Linked DNA regions of Homo sapiens: region 2 is linked to region 1. Evidence: promoter capture Hi-C in 16 types of primary human blood cells and fetal thymus (Javierre and others, 2016). All regions are on one chromosome and are shown on one strand. Each heading gives the region's core, a stretch centred on a gene start or on the middle of the fragment in contact. The rest is flanking DNA. Distances are from core to core; before and after follow the strand shown. Region 1 holds the start of CCNL2 (cyclin L2). Region 2 holds the start of PANK4 (pantothenate kinase 4 (inactive)).

The links. Contacts are between HindIII fragments. The CHiCAGO score rates a contact against its expected background, and 5 or more counts as called.
Region 2: the fragment with the promoter of PANK4 here is called in contact with the fragment with the promoter of CCNL2 in region 1 in 1 of 17 cell types (neutrophils); the score reaches 8.7 in neutrophils.

What each region holds. Positions count from the first base shown.
Region 1 is chr1:1,394,194-1,400,915 of GRCh38, reverse strand. CCNL2 (cyclin L2) reads left to right here and starts at 1,581. Exons shown (of 11, transcript NM_030937.6): 1 at 1,581-1,897; 2 at 2,245-2,319; 3 at 2,574-2,683; 4 at 5,402-5,522. The coding sequence starts at 1,610. It overlaps MRPL20-AS1 (MRPL20 antisense RNA 1), which reads right to left and starts at 1,386. Exons shown (of 3, transcript NR_015434.1): 1 at 1,227-1,386; 2 at 613-758; 3 at 1-311. RefSeq lists an enhancer at 100-643 and silencers at 1,029-1,088, 1,379-1,618, 1,689-1,868. The HindIII fragment of the contact is 37,128 bases long and covers 1-6,722 here.
Region 2 is chr1:2,524,768-2,531,180 of GRCh38, reverse strand. It overlaps PANK4 (pantothenate kinase 4 (inactive)), which reads left to right and starts at 4,585. Exons shown (of 19, transcript NM_018216.4): 1 at 4,585-4,717. The coding sequence starts at 4,594. HES5 (hes family bHLH transcription factor 5) reads left to right here and starts at 918. Exons shown (of 3, transcript NM_001010926.4): 1 at 918-1,070; 2 at 1,170-1,335; 3 at 1,432-2,436. The coding sequence starts at 1,017. The coding sequence ends at 1,712. RefSeq lists enhancers at 658-1,161, 1,676-2,395, 2,396-3,116, 3,838-4,558. The HindIII fragment of the contact is 7,457 bases long and covers 4,188-6,413 here.

The DNA.
Region 1 (6,722 bases), core at 332-2,831:
AAAGCTGCCTTTTCTGCGTTTCATGTCAGTGAAGGAAGACAGGGATGTGGCAGAGCCCTGCGGGTTGCTCCCATCACTCACTCGGTTTGTGCCATAGTCCTCCTGTTCCCAGGCGGTCCCAGGGCCTGCCCCTGATGGGCTGGAGGCACCACCAACCTCCCACTCCTCTGGCAGTCACAGCTCAGGGAATGGGCAAGCAGCACCAATGAGAAACCAGCTGTGTGGTGGGGTTTCCAGAGAAGAGGAAATTCCTTCTTTCCTGGAGAGCGTGCAGCTGTAACTCACAGACGAGACATCCCTGAGCTACCAGCCTGGGGAAAGAGGACATGAGTAAAGCTGTAACCATACCGTGTTACCCATAACAGGCGGTGAGGAGAGTGGGTTTTGGTTGGCACTGTTTGAGCTGCAGTATCAAGTCATGGCAGAGCTAGTGGACAGCTGACCTGGGGGTGGGGGTGAGGAGCAATGGTGGCTTCTGAATTTGAGCCCGTCTGAGCTGGGCAGTTACTGGCAGCTCAGTGTGTGAACCTGCAACCACTCAGGCCTCTGCTGCCCTTCCCTCTTCCTGCCTCACCGTTCCCTGCCCCACGCAGGCTTCCCCACCATCCTCACCCGTGGTCCTGTACTAGTCCTGGCAAAGGTTCCGGTAACTGCAGCAACAGATACCTCCTGCCCCTCCTGCACAGCTGTGGTCGATCGCAGGACAGCCGCAGGTGATGAAAAACCGTGAACCCAGGACGGGCAGGGCGTGAGACCGCCTGCGGGAGGATCAGCGATGTCAAGACGTTACAAACGCACGAACCCCCTCGCCGTCTCCCTGGCGTTTGTGAGGTCCTGTCCAAGCTCCTTCACACGTAGATCACCGGGCCTCGCTCCCCCGACTCCTTCCGTGGGCCTGAACCTTGAGGTACTTAGGCCTCCCCACGCTGGAGGGGCTCTGTAGGGACGTCGAGGCCACGTTTCCAGTCATCCCTCCACCCGTCTCTCCCCAGGGGCTGAGTGTTGAAGGCAAGACTTTGCAGGAGTCTGGCGTTAATACGCATCCCCAAAGTCTGGAGTCGATAAGGACTGAAGACACGACGCCGACGGCGGCCGGGGGACACCGGGCATGCGCGTCTCATCCAGGGGGAGGCCGAGCGGAGCCTCTGACCCTGCCCCGCGCCCAGGGTTCAGCAGTGGGGGTCGTCCCGCCCCAGATCCCACCGAGATGGCCCCCCTTGACCCACAGGCCTTTCGAGACGCGAGCTTCCGCGATCCGGGGTCTCTGTGCGAACGTGGGCATCTTGGAAGAGTCCCAGCCCCGCTCGGGGCGCACAGGCAGGCGCTCTCAGCACGGCACCCGCGCCTCCGCTAGGGACAGACATGCTTCCGGGTCGGCCGGCACCGCGGAGTCCCCTGGGTAACGAGCCCGCCCCACCCGCGCCAGGTTCCGGCGTCGGCGTTAGGCGCGTTGCTGACGGGCAGGTTATGTAGCCAATTGCGGCTAGGCGGCGTCGCGCTGGTCGCGGGCCGAACCAATGGCACGCGACGGGGCGGGGCGGTGGCGGCCGTGGAGCTTCGCGAGGAGCCGCCCTGAGGGAAGAAGCCGAAGGGGAGTCGGCGGCACAAAATGGCGGCGGCGGCGGCGGCGGCTGGTGCTGCAGGGTCGGCAGCTCCCGCGGCAGCGGCCGGCGCCCCGGGATCTGGGGGCGCACCCTCAGGGTCGCAGGGGGTGCTGATCGGGGACAGGCTGTACTCCGGGGTGCTCATCACCTTGGAGAACTGCCTCCTGCCTGACGACAAGCTCCGTTTCACGCCGTCCATGTCGAGCGGCCTCGACACCGACACAGAGACCGACCTCCGCGTGGTGGGCTGCGAGCTCATCCAGGCGGCCGGTATCCTGCTCCGCCTGCCGCAGGTGAGGGCGCGGCCGCGAGCCTCCGGCCCAGGTAACCGCTGGGGCGGCAGCCGCCTTTGTTGGCGGCGAGTCGGGCCCGCACCGCCCCCGCCTAGACCCCGACCCCAGCCCCTGCCCCGACCCCAGCCTCGGCGCCATTCCCTAGCCAGCCCATGCCCCTGACCCGGGGCCTCCCCGCCCGCCAGTGCGCTGGATCCCGAGACGGCGGGACGCGAAGAGCCTTTGTGGACGTGGGAAGCGTTTCAGTGTTTGGTTCTGCGTGGGGAGTCCCACGTTACTCGATGACTTTCGGCCGCGAAGGCTTTGAATGGTGCGTTTGAAAATACGGAAACTTTCTTCTACTCTAGGTGGCCATGGCTACCGGGCAGGTGTTGTTCCAGCGGTTCTTTTATACCAAGTCCTTCGTGAAGCACTCCATGGAGGTAAGGCTTCCTCCTGCACTTCATTCCCAGCGAAGTATGTTGAGGGTAAAACGGTTTGTTACTTTGCCCGGTTACTAAGGGAGTGAGTACTTGCCCCCCAGTCTGAGCTCTGTGCCGGAGGGTTCTGTTTCTTGACTTTTTTTTTCCCCTGGGTGCACCTCCCTTTTGGTCTGAATAGCCCTCAAGCCTTTGGCGGCCGTCAGGACGCCGTGGCTGGGGACAAACATGGGCGTGTTGCAATGCTTCCGCTTCAGCATGTGTCAATGGCCTGTGTCCACCTGGCTTCCAAGATAGAAGAGGCCCCAAGACGCATACGGGACGTCATCAATGTGTTTCACCGCCTTCGACAGCTGAGAGACAAAAAGTGAGTCAGTCAGAGCTGTCTAGTCTATCATAGATGCCTATTTTCTTTATTTCTGATTAAGTTACAGTAAGGCTTGTATAACACAATACAGGCCTGAGGCTCTAAACCTGTGGGATATTCATGAGCGCAGTCTCAAGCTCCACCAACAGAGCCTGCTCAGAGGCATCAGTAGATGCGGTTTAGTAAGGGCAGGGGCTCCAGTGAGGACAGTGCGCTGTGGCGGGTCGCGCTGGGGCTGGCTTCCTGCTTTACCCATGTCAGTGCACGGCCCTGCTGCTGCTTCTGTCCCACAAGTTTCTGAGTGCTCTGGAGCAGGGAATCTTAATCTCAGCACTATTGACATTCAGGCTGGATAATCTTTTTTTTCCTCCTGAGACAGGTTTCCTGTTGTCCAGGGCAGAGTGCGGTGGTATGATCATGGCTCACTACAGCCTCAACCTCCTAGGCTCAAGAGTTTCTCCTGCCTCAGCCTCCTGAGTAGCTGGGACTATAGGAGCACGCCAACCATGCCAGCTAATTTTTATTTTTTATTTGGTAAAGATGGGGTCATGCTGTGTTGCCCAGGCTGGTCTCAAATTCCTGGGCTCCAAGGATTTGCTGGCCTTAGCCTCCCAAAGCACTGGGATTACAGATTTCAGCCACCGCATCTGGCTGGGTAATCTTTAGTTGTAGGGGATTCTCCTGTGTGCTGCAGGATTCAGCAACATCCCTGGTCTCGACTCACTGGATGACAGGAGTACCCCACCTTAGATGTGACAGCCAGAAATTCTCTCATACCAGATGTGGGAGCTCACACCTGTCATCTCAGCACTTGGGAGACTGAAAAAGGAGGTTTGCTTGAGGCCAGGAGATTGAGGCTGCAGTGAGCTGTGATGTCACCACTGCACTCCAGCCTGGACAACAGGGTGAGGCCCTGTTTCCAAAAAAAACGAAAGTCTGTTGATGTTGCTTCATGGCCCTGGAATAGTAAAATTTCTCCAGCAGAGAACCGCTGCCTCTGACCTTAGCCCAGGGTTTATGCACCTGAAGTTAATTGAAGTCCTTTAGAAAACACAGCCTCTGGCCGGGCTGGCCTGTAATCCCAGCACGTTGGGAGGCCTAGGCAGGTGGATCACCTAAGGTCAGGAGTTCGAGACCAGCCTAACCAATATGGTGAAACCCTGTCCCTATTAAGAACACAAAAATTGGCCAGGTGCAGTGGCTCACGCCTGTAATCCCAGCACTTTGGGAGGCCGAGGCGGGTGGATCACGAGGTCAGGAGATCGAGACCATCCTGGCTAACACGGTGAAACCCCGTCTACTAAAAATACAAAAAAGTTAGCCAGGCGTGGTGGCGGGTGCCTGTGGTCCCAGCTACTTGGGAGGCTGAGGCAGGAGAATGGCGTGAACCCGGGAGGTGGAGCTTGCAGTGAGCTGAGATCGGGCCACTGCACTCCAGCCTGGGCGACAGAGCAAGACTCCGTCTCAAAAAAAAATAAAAAAAAAATTAGCCGGGTGTGGTTGCGGGTGCCTGTAATCCCAGCTATTCGGGAGGGTGAGGCAGGAGAATCGCTGGAACCGGGGAGTTAGAGGTGCAGTGAGCTGAGATTGTGCCATTGCACTCCAGCCTGGGCAACAAAAGTGAAACTCTGTCTCAAAAAAAAAAAAAAAAAAAAAAAAAACAGCCTTGCCGAGCGCAGTGGCTCACGCCTATAGTCCCAGCACTTTGGGAGGCCAAGGCGGGTGGATCATCTGAGGTCGGGAGTTCGAGACCAGCCTGACCAACATGTAGAAACCCCATCTCTACTACAAATATAAAATTAGCTGGTCGTGGTGGTGCATGCCTGTAATACCAGCTACTTGGGAGGCTGAGGCAGGAGAATTGCTTGAACCTGGGAGGTGGAGGTTATAGTGAGCCAAGAGCGCGCCACTGCACTCCAGCCTGGGCAACAGAGTGAGACTCCATCTCAAAAAAAGAAAAAACATGGCCTCATCGGCCTCCCAAAGTGCTGGGGTTACAGGTGTGAGCCACTGCACCCAGCCCTTTTTTTTTTTTTTTTTTTCTGAGACGGACTCTCACTGTGTCTCACCGTGTCACCCAGGCTGGAGTGCAGTGATGCGATCTCGGCTCACTGAAACCTCCGCCTCCTGGGTTCAAGTGAATCTCCTGCCTCAGCCTCCTGAGTAGCTGGGATTACAAGCACCCGCCACCACGCCCGGCTAATTTTTGCATTTTTTTAGTAGAGACAGGGTTTCACCATGTTGGTCAGACTGGTCTTGAACTCCTGAGCTCAGGCAGTCTGCCTGCCTCGCCTCCCAAAGTGCTGGGATTACAGGCAGAGCCACTGCACCTGGCCCATCTGTATTTAAATAATTGTGCTTTCATTGGTTCTGTGGTTATTGAACTGTGAATATGTACCTTCCTATCGTGAGTCACATAAAGTGCTTTAGCATTTGTGCCACGAGATCCTAAAACTTGCTATGTTCGGTCTATGCTTGTGCACCAGAAGCTGTTGATCTATAAGGAAAAGCAGGGAGGGATCGTTGGGAAGGGATGAGGAGGTTGGCACTGGGCTGTGGGGAGCGGTGTGCAGTTTTGTTCATCAGAGGATGTGGACTTCATAGCGATGTTGTGTTGTGGGGTTTGTGTTAGGTGCTCATAGTTGGAGGTAACGACGGGATCTCAGAAGCCTTGCTCTGCTTGACTGTGGTGCAGACCCTGTGCTCTCTCTCTGGCAGGAAGCCCGTGCCTCTACTACTGGATCAAGATTATGTTAATTTAAAGAACCAAATTATAAAGGCGGAAAGACGAGTTCTCAAAGAGTTGGGTTTCTGCGTCCATGTGAAGCATCCTCATAAGGTGGGTGTGCGGCTCCTGCCCTGCGAGCCCGCCTAGGCCGCTGCTCCTGCCTGGCCGCCTCTCTCCACCTCAGTGCAGTTGAAGGCTCTGAAGAGGACTGAGTGCATCCCTGACTTGGCTTTCCAGTTTCTATTTATAATCTCAAGAATAGTTCCTGACGTATTCGTCTTCTAGTGTCAGCTGTTTATTTTAGTAACACATTTTTAAGTGTTTTGGAAATGGTATTATTTAAGTTTGGGCTTTCAAAAATAGTGGTGAGTTTATAAATGTTGAATTTTAGTTTATGTTTTCCTTTCTCTACAGTTAATTTTTTTTTGTTTTCTTTTTTTTTGAGATGGAGTTTCGCTCTATCGCCAGGCTGGAGTGCAGTGGCATGGTGGCAGTGGCAGTGGAGGCACAACCTCCACCTCCCGGCTTCAAGCCATTCTCCTGCCTCAGCCTCCTGAGTAGCTGGCACTACAGGCACGTGCCACCACGCCGAGCTGATTTTTGTATTTTTAGTAGAGACGGGGTTTCACCATGTTGGCCAGAATGGTCTTCATCTCTTGCCCTCGTGATCCTCCCACCTTGGCCTCCCAAAGTGCTGGGATTACAGGCATAAGCCACTGTGCCTGGCCTTTTTTTTTTTTTTTTTTTTTTTTCTTGAGACGGAGTCTTACTCTGTCATGCAGGCTGGAGTGCAGTGGTGCAATCTTGGCTCACTGCAACCTCTGCCTCCCAGGTTCAAGTGATTCTTGTGCCTCAGCCTCCCAAGTAGCTGGGATTACAGGCATGCGCCACCACACCTGGGTAATTTTTGTATCTTTAGTAGAGATGGGGTTTCGTCATGTTGGCCGGGCTGGTCTCAAACTCCTGATCTCAGGTGATGCACCTGCCTCGGCCTCCCAAAGTTCTGGGATTACAAGTGTGAGCCACTGCACCCAGCCTCAACAGTTAATTTTCTACATTTGCTTTAGTGATAGCTTTACTTTCTCTTATGGAGAAATTAGGGGAATTCTGGCCCCTTTAGTCTGAAATGACTGGCGAGTTTTGCGGCATGTACTGACTGAGGACCATGGCCGTGACACGGTCCCTCACTCCCAGCGTTGTGGGTGCCTTCTGTGTCACATGGAAACAAAGCACTTGTTTTCCCAAAAAATTGTTTCCATCTTTGGTTCCATCTCCTTTTTATTGGTGGGTTTCCTCATCTGCTTGTTCGGC
Region 2 (6,413 bases), core at 3,336-5,835, 1.1 Mb before region 1:
CATGCATAAACAGTGGCCACAGCAAGCATGCCAAGAGCCGAGGCCTCCCGAGCTGCGTGGACACTGTAGTCAGATCCCTGGCCAGATAGGGGTGGGGAGAGGCCCCTGAGGGACACCTGCCAGCTCGTGGAGCAGCCCCAGTGCTGCTGTGGGTTACAGTGCTCCTGGGAGGACAGGGTGCAGGAAGCGGGGAGAGCTGCCGGGTGCCCGGCTCCGCGGGGAGAGCTGCCGGGTGCCGGGCTCCACGTGGAGCACGGGCCCCAGCTTCCTGGAGCTGCCCGGAGCCCAGCCAGGAAGGCACAAGGCCCATTTTCTAGGTCTGGAGAAGTCAGGAGTCCCAGGTGACAGTCAGGGGGCTTGTAATATAGGCACGTAGGACTGATCCTAAGAGCGTCGCCCCCTCTGTCCCCCTCCCCTGGAGGGGCAGCAGGTCCCAGTCAGGGAAGGTGCCCATCCCCCAGGAAGCCGTGGCACTTGTTCATTCTACAGTTTTTCCCTTATCTGCTCCTACGGCCTCTGCCAGCCAGCAGTGGGAAGCCGCTGGGGAGAGGCAGGGGAGGGGAGCGGAGGGGAGGGCGGGGGAGGGGGCCCTCCTTCCTGCCCCCCTCCCGTTTGGCGGCCTGGGAAAAGGCAGCATATTGAGGCGCGGGGCTCCCGGCATCAGGCCCCGGGATGCTAATGAGGGCGAGCGCGTTCCCACAGCCCGGACATTGTGCCGCGCGGCCCACCTGCTCCTTGGGGAGCGCCCATTGTGCCCGCGCCAATTCACAGGCAATTTAGCGTGCGCTAATGGGCCGGCGCCTTTGTGCGGCCCGCCCGGCCATTGGCCGCGGAGTGTGGGAACGGCCGCGGCGCCCGGACTCCAGGCGCCAGGCCGCCGCCCGCGCCTATATAGGGCGTCGGCGCGCGGGGCCGGTGTCCGCGCCAGCCCGGGACGCGCTTGGCCTTGCCCGCGCCCGCTCGCCTCGTCTCGCCCGGCCTCCCCGCGTCGCCTCGTCGCCTGTTCCGCGCCAGGCATGGCCCCCAGCACTGTGGCCGTGGAGCTGCTCAGCCCCAAAGAGAAAAACCGAGTAAGTACCAGACTCGCCCGGCGCGCTGTCCCCGCGGCCTCCGGTCCTCGGGGGTCCCTGCGCCGTGCCGGGCCAGCCTGACACCCCCTCCTCCCGCAGCTGCGGAAGCCGGTGGTGGAGAAGATGCGCCGCGACCGCATCAACAGCAGCATCGAGCAGCTGAAGCTGCTGCTGGAGCAGGAGTTCGCGCGGCACCAGCCCAACTCCAAGCTGGAGAAGGCCGACATCCTGGAGATGGCTGTCAGCTACCTGAAGCACAGCAAAGGTGAGCGCGCCCGGGCCCCCCGCGCCCCGAGTTCCCACCGCGCCCCGGCTCCCCCGCGCCCCGCCGCCCGCTCACCGCCGCCGCGTCTCCCCGCAGCCTTCGTCGCCGCCGCCGGCCCCAAGAGCCTGCACCAGGACTACAGCGAAGGCTACTCGTGGTGCCTGCAGGAGGCCGTGCAGTTCCTGACGCTCCACGCCGCCAGCGACACGCAGATGAAGCTGCTGTACCACTTCCAGCGGCCCCCGGCCGCGCCCGCCGCGCCCGCCAAGGAGCCCAAGGCGCCGGGCGCCGCGCCCCCGCCCGCGCTCTCCGCCAAGGCCACCGCCGCCGCCGCCGCCGCGCACCAGCCCGCCTGCGGCCTCTGGCGGCCCTGGTGACCCGGCGGGACCTGCGGGCGCGCGGCCCGACGACCAGAGGGCGAGCCTGCTCCTCTCGCCTGTAGGGAAGCGCCTTCCCGCCGTCGTCCGCCCCGGGCTTGGACGCGCCCTTCTCCGGAAGGCTCTGGCCCCAAGCTGGCCGGCCCGCAGGAGCCCCATTCTCAGAGAATGTGTGTGCAGAGTCCCTGCCGTTTTAGGACAATCAGGGCCCATCTTCTGCCAAGTGTCTGACCCCATGGGGTTGTTCTGTGTTTGCATTTAAGCAAGTGACTTCTGGGAAGTCCCCGGCCGCCCGGGGTTCTATGATATTTGTAGTGCCGGGGCTCGCACACTGCTGCCCCCAGCCTGTAGAGGACTTTCTTCAGGGCCCGTAGCTGCTGGGCGTACCCCTGGCAGGCGGGCTGTGCCGCGGGCACATTTGCCTTTTGTGAAGGCCGAACTCGAGCTGTATCCTCATAGGAAACAGTGATCACCCCGGACGGGCGTCCAGGACCCTGAGGGCCATGGCCAAAAGGCTCCTGAGTGTGCCTGGTGGTCTGGCTGGGGCTCACGGTGGGCTGTCTGGGGAGGGTGGGTGCCTCCACTATGATCCTTAAAGGATTCCTCTGTGTGGGTGGATGCGTGTGGGCACGACTTTGTACTCAGAAATTGAACTCTCAGTCACGTGGAAGCCACGGGACTGCTCCGAAGCCGCCATAATAAAATCTGATTGTTCAGCCCCCAACACAGTGTCGTCTGCTGTGCCTCACGCCTGTCCTTGGCAGCCATGGAGCGGGTCTGCAGGGGTGAAGGGGAATGGGCAGGGCCATGGTAGCAGTTAAGCAGGGAGGGACCCCTGCCAGTGGCCCCCTGGACCCCGGAAGAAGGGTGGGGTCCTTGCTCCGGAAGAACAGGGGGAGGGAGGGATGGAGGGAAAGCAGGTGAGGGGCAGGGGCAGGGGGAGGTGGGCTGGAGGGGTGGACATGGTCGGAGCCCTGGGTCTCCCCCCGCCCAGGCCTTTCACTAGCTTCCGGAAGGTAGGGGTGGGGCAAGGTGACAGCGCAGGACCTTAGGCTGTGTCCACTGAGAGGCGACCCAGGGCCACAGCCCGCAGTAGATCTGTTGCTACAGCCAAAGGGGCTTGGCCCTGGGCCAAACAGGAGAAAACATTTGCCCCGAGTTGCTGCTGCACACTCCCACGGCCTGCAGCGCCAGTCCTGGCATGGGCTCCGGGGACACCTGCCCGCTGGCCACCGTGCCAAGGCAGGATCTGGCAGTCCTGGCAGGAGCCTGCACGGGGCCATCCCTTGCCTCAGAAAGGGCATGTATTTTTAGGCAGGCCACAGGGTGTTGGCTGAGTCTGCAAGAACTGAGGCCTGTGGCTCCCAGGGACCAGCTCCCAAGGGGCAAAATCCATCCAGCAAGGATTGGGCCGGAGTGGGCCGCATTCCCACCCCCGCTGAATGGTAGCCCCGTGTGTGGGCCTGCCCTGCCTGCTCCTTCCTGCTCAGCCCCTCTCGCTCCGCTCAGCCTTCAGCCCCTTTCTGGCTACTCCACAGGCAGTCTAGACAGGGTCCCCCCACCAGACCAACCCAGTGCCTGCCAGTGGTCCCTACCGAGCCCCGGGGTATGGTGGGCAGAGGACAGGGAAGGCCCCCATTCACCTGCATGTTTCCCGCATGTTCAGTGGGCACACAGGTGGGCGCCCCTCATGGAGGGCACCTCCTGCCAGCCTGGCCCATGGCACACCATGCTGCCAGGGGTCTGAGCTGCCAGAGGTCTAAGCCGCCTGGGGTGTGCTCCACTCTTCCACCCAGGCCTCCCTGGGGCAGGCTCCCCCTCCAGAGCCACACACCCACCCCCTTGGAAGACACAGGCAAGGATGCCTCCTCCCTGAAGGCTTGCCCTGCGCACACAGATGCATTATCCCTGGAGTTTGTGCCGCCCCACAGGCCTGTGCTCCCAGGAGCCCTGCCAGGCAGCTGGTGGCATTCTCCACGTGCAGACAGAGGCTGAGGGCCAGAGACATGCAGTAATGACCCCGGGTTACCCGGGAGGGGCTGATCTGTCTGCTTCCAACACTGGGCTTTTTCCCAAGGCGCCCAGAGCCTCTGGAGAAGACGCATCTCTTCATGCCAGCAGGGCTTCCCAGCCACTCACCCTGGAACCCTGGCCTGCCCCACCTATACCCCTGTCCTGGCTCCAGCTGCTTCCAAGGCTTGTTCCTGCAGCCTCCCAGGCACCTGTCTTGCCCACAGGCAGCCTGCCTGGCTTCCCCCGACCACAGCACTTTCCACGGATCGCCATTACAGCACACATCTTCCCTACCCGCAGGTGCATGCCAGGCTGGGGCTCCTCCCAGGTGGGGCAGGGTTCCCCACTCCTCTGGTTTGCATGGGACTTTTAACATTGAAAGTCCCACGCCCCTGGGAAGCCAGGATTGAGTCACCCTAGCAAAGAGCGCATCACATTCGCCCTGGCGTGCAGGGCCAAGCTTACAGCAGGCACTCGCTGAAGGGCAGGGCTCTCTGACAGTCTGCAGACCCACGTGCCCCCTTAGAAGCAGGTGGGCGGCCTCTGCGGCCTCCCTCAGCAGGGCTCAGAGCACTTGAGTTAAGCCTGTGGACAGCGCGGTAAAAGAACATCAGTCCAGATGTTCTGTGCTGATGCGCGATCTCTGGAGGATAACCGCCCGCCCGCCCGCAGCCCCGGGCCTCTCGGACCCCTGCCCAGCACTGGCCCTAGCTCGCCCTGTAGCGGCCGAGACCTCAGAGGCCGGGGGTGGGGGAGGGAAGGGGCGGGGCCGGCGCCTCATTAACATAATCTATGCGAGGGGGCGTTTGGCAGTCAAATATATGCGCATATATCTCCATGGCTGATGAGCTGGCCGGGCACTTTCAAAATGGCGGAGTGTGGAGCGAGCGGCAGCGGGAGCAGCGGGGACAGTCTGGACAAGAGCATCACGCTGCCCCCCGACGAGATCTTCCGCAACCTGGAGAACGCCAAGCGCTTCGCCATCGACATAGGTAGCCGCAGGCCGGGCGCCGGGCGCGGGCTGCGGGGGCGGGCGGGGCGCCGGCGGTGGGCCGGCGAGCGGGGGCGGCGGGAAGGACGAAGGGCGGGGGCGCGGGCCTCGCGCACAGCCTCACGGGCCTTGTAGTCCGCGGGCCCGCGCACAGCCTCACGGGCCTTGTAGTCCGCAGGGTCGCTGATGCGCGGGCTCGGGGCGACGGCCGGACTACAGCTACCGGCAGGCGCCGCAGGGACCAGAGCGGGGCCTGCCGGGCCTGGTAGTTCGCGCGGCCGTCCTGGGTGGCTGGGGGCCGGGGTCCAGCGTTACCCGCCGCGAGGTGGGAGGGTCGGCGGAATTTTATGTCTTCGGCCACATCGGCATCTGGGCGCCCCGGCTCCGCCGCTTGGCTGGTGGCTGGCCTGAGATTTGGGGTCCTTAGTTCTGGTCGAGACGAGGACGAGCTCGGCGGGAAGCCCTTGGCAGAGTGGCCCCGAAAAGGCCGCGCGTTCCCGCGGCGTGGCCAGCTGTGGCCCGCGGGCCGGACAGTCCGTGCACAGGCCCCGCTCTCTGGAGAGTGGACGCCGGGCGTGAGTTCAGGCGGCCGTGGACGTGGGACCTGGGAACTCGTGCCTCTGGTTTAAAAGCCACCCGTGCCTTCCGTGGCCTTTAAGGCGGCCTGCACTTCTGCCCTGGCCTCTCCAGGGTCCGCTGCAGACCCTCCTGCCTGATGGCTGTGCTCTCAGTAATGACGGCGGGCCAGGCTCTGTTCTAGACCTTTTTCCCACGCTCCTGACTCCCGGACACCTCCCAGCCACCTCTAGGGGAGGAACGCGAATTACTCCCTTTTCGCAGATGAGGATACCAAGCCCCAGAAAGGTGAACTAATTTGCCCAGGGTCATCGGGCTAGAAAGTGGCAGAACCAGGATTTGAACCAGCCACTCCCTGCTCTCCTACTCTGCCCATGTTTCAGGCATGAGGGCTTCCTGGGGGCAGCTTCACCTGGAGAAACCCCCCTTGAATAGCCGCTGCGGCTTCACATACCTCTCCCTCTTAGCACTCATCTCGGTCGTAGGCTGAGTCTGCTTGTGTGTGAATCCCACAAGAGCAGCGGTGTGTCTTGTAGCCCCAGCCCCCGAAAAGGATGCCCAACCTGTCTTTGCCGCCCAGTAAATACTGGGATGAATGGGCCTGCCGCTGACTGCTTCCCACCTCCCTGGAAAAGCTGGGACTCAGAGAGACCCAGGCCATTCCCTCTGAGCTGTGTGCTCCTGGTGCATCTGACATGTTTGCTGCTGTGGTGTCCTCGGGGTTGTTGGTGTCATCATCTCTCTGAGATGTCCAGCCAGGGAAGGGTGTCCTCTAGGGAAGTGGGGGGCGATGAGAATGGAAGTAGCTATAGGTCCTGGCTCCCACCTTTCAGTGAGCTTATGGGAGGCAATGCTTCTTAGGGGGTGTGGCCTGGTGCCAGGTATGAGAACGTGTGAGTAGCATCTTTAGGGACCGCTGATAGGACTTGGGACTGACTGGTTATTGGGCTGCAGGTGCTGAGCTTGCAGCCCTAGCCTAGGGGATTGTCTACCGCAGGCCTCACCAGAGGCTCCCCAGCCATGCTTCCCAGCCTTCTGAGACCTTGAGGCCCGGTAGAGCGTGTGCTCTGCAAGGTTCTGCTGCCCTTACACTGGGGGATTCTGTTACTGGAAGCAAGTCG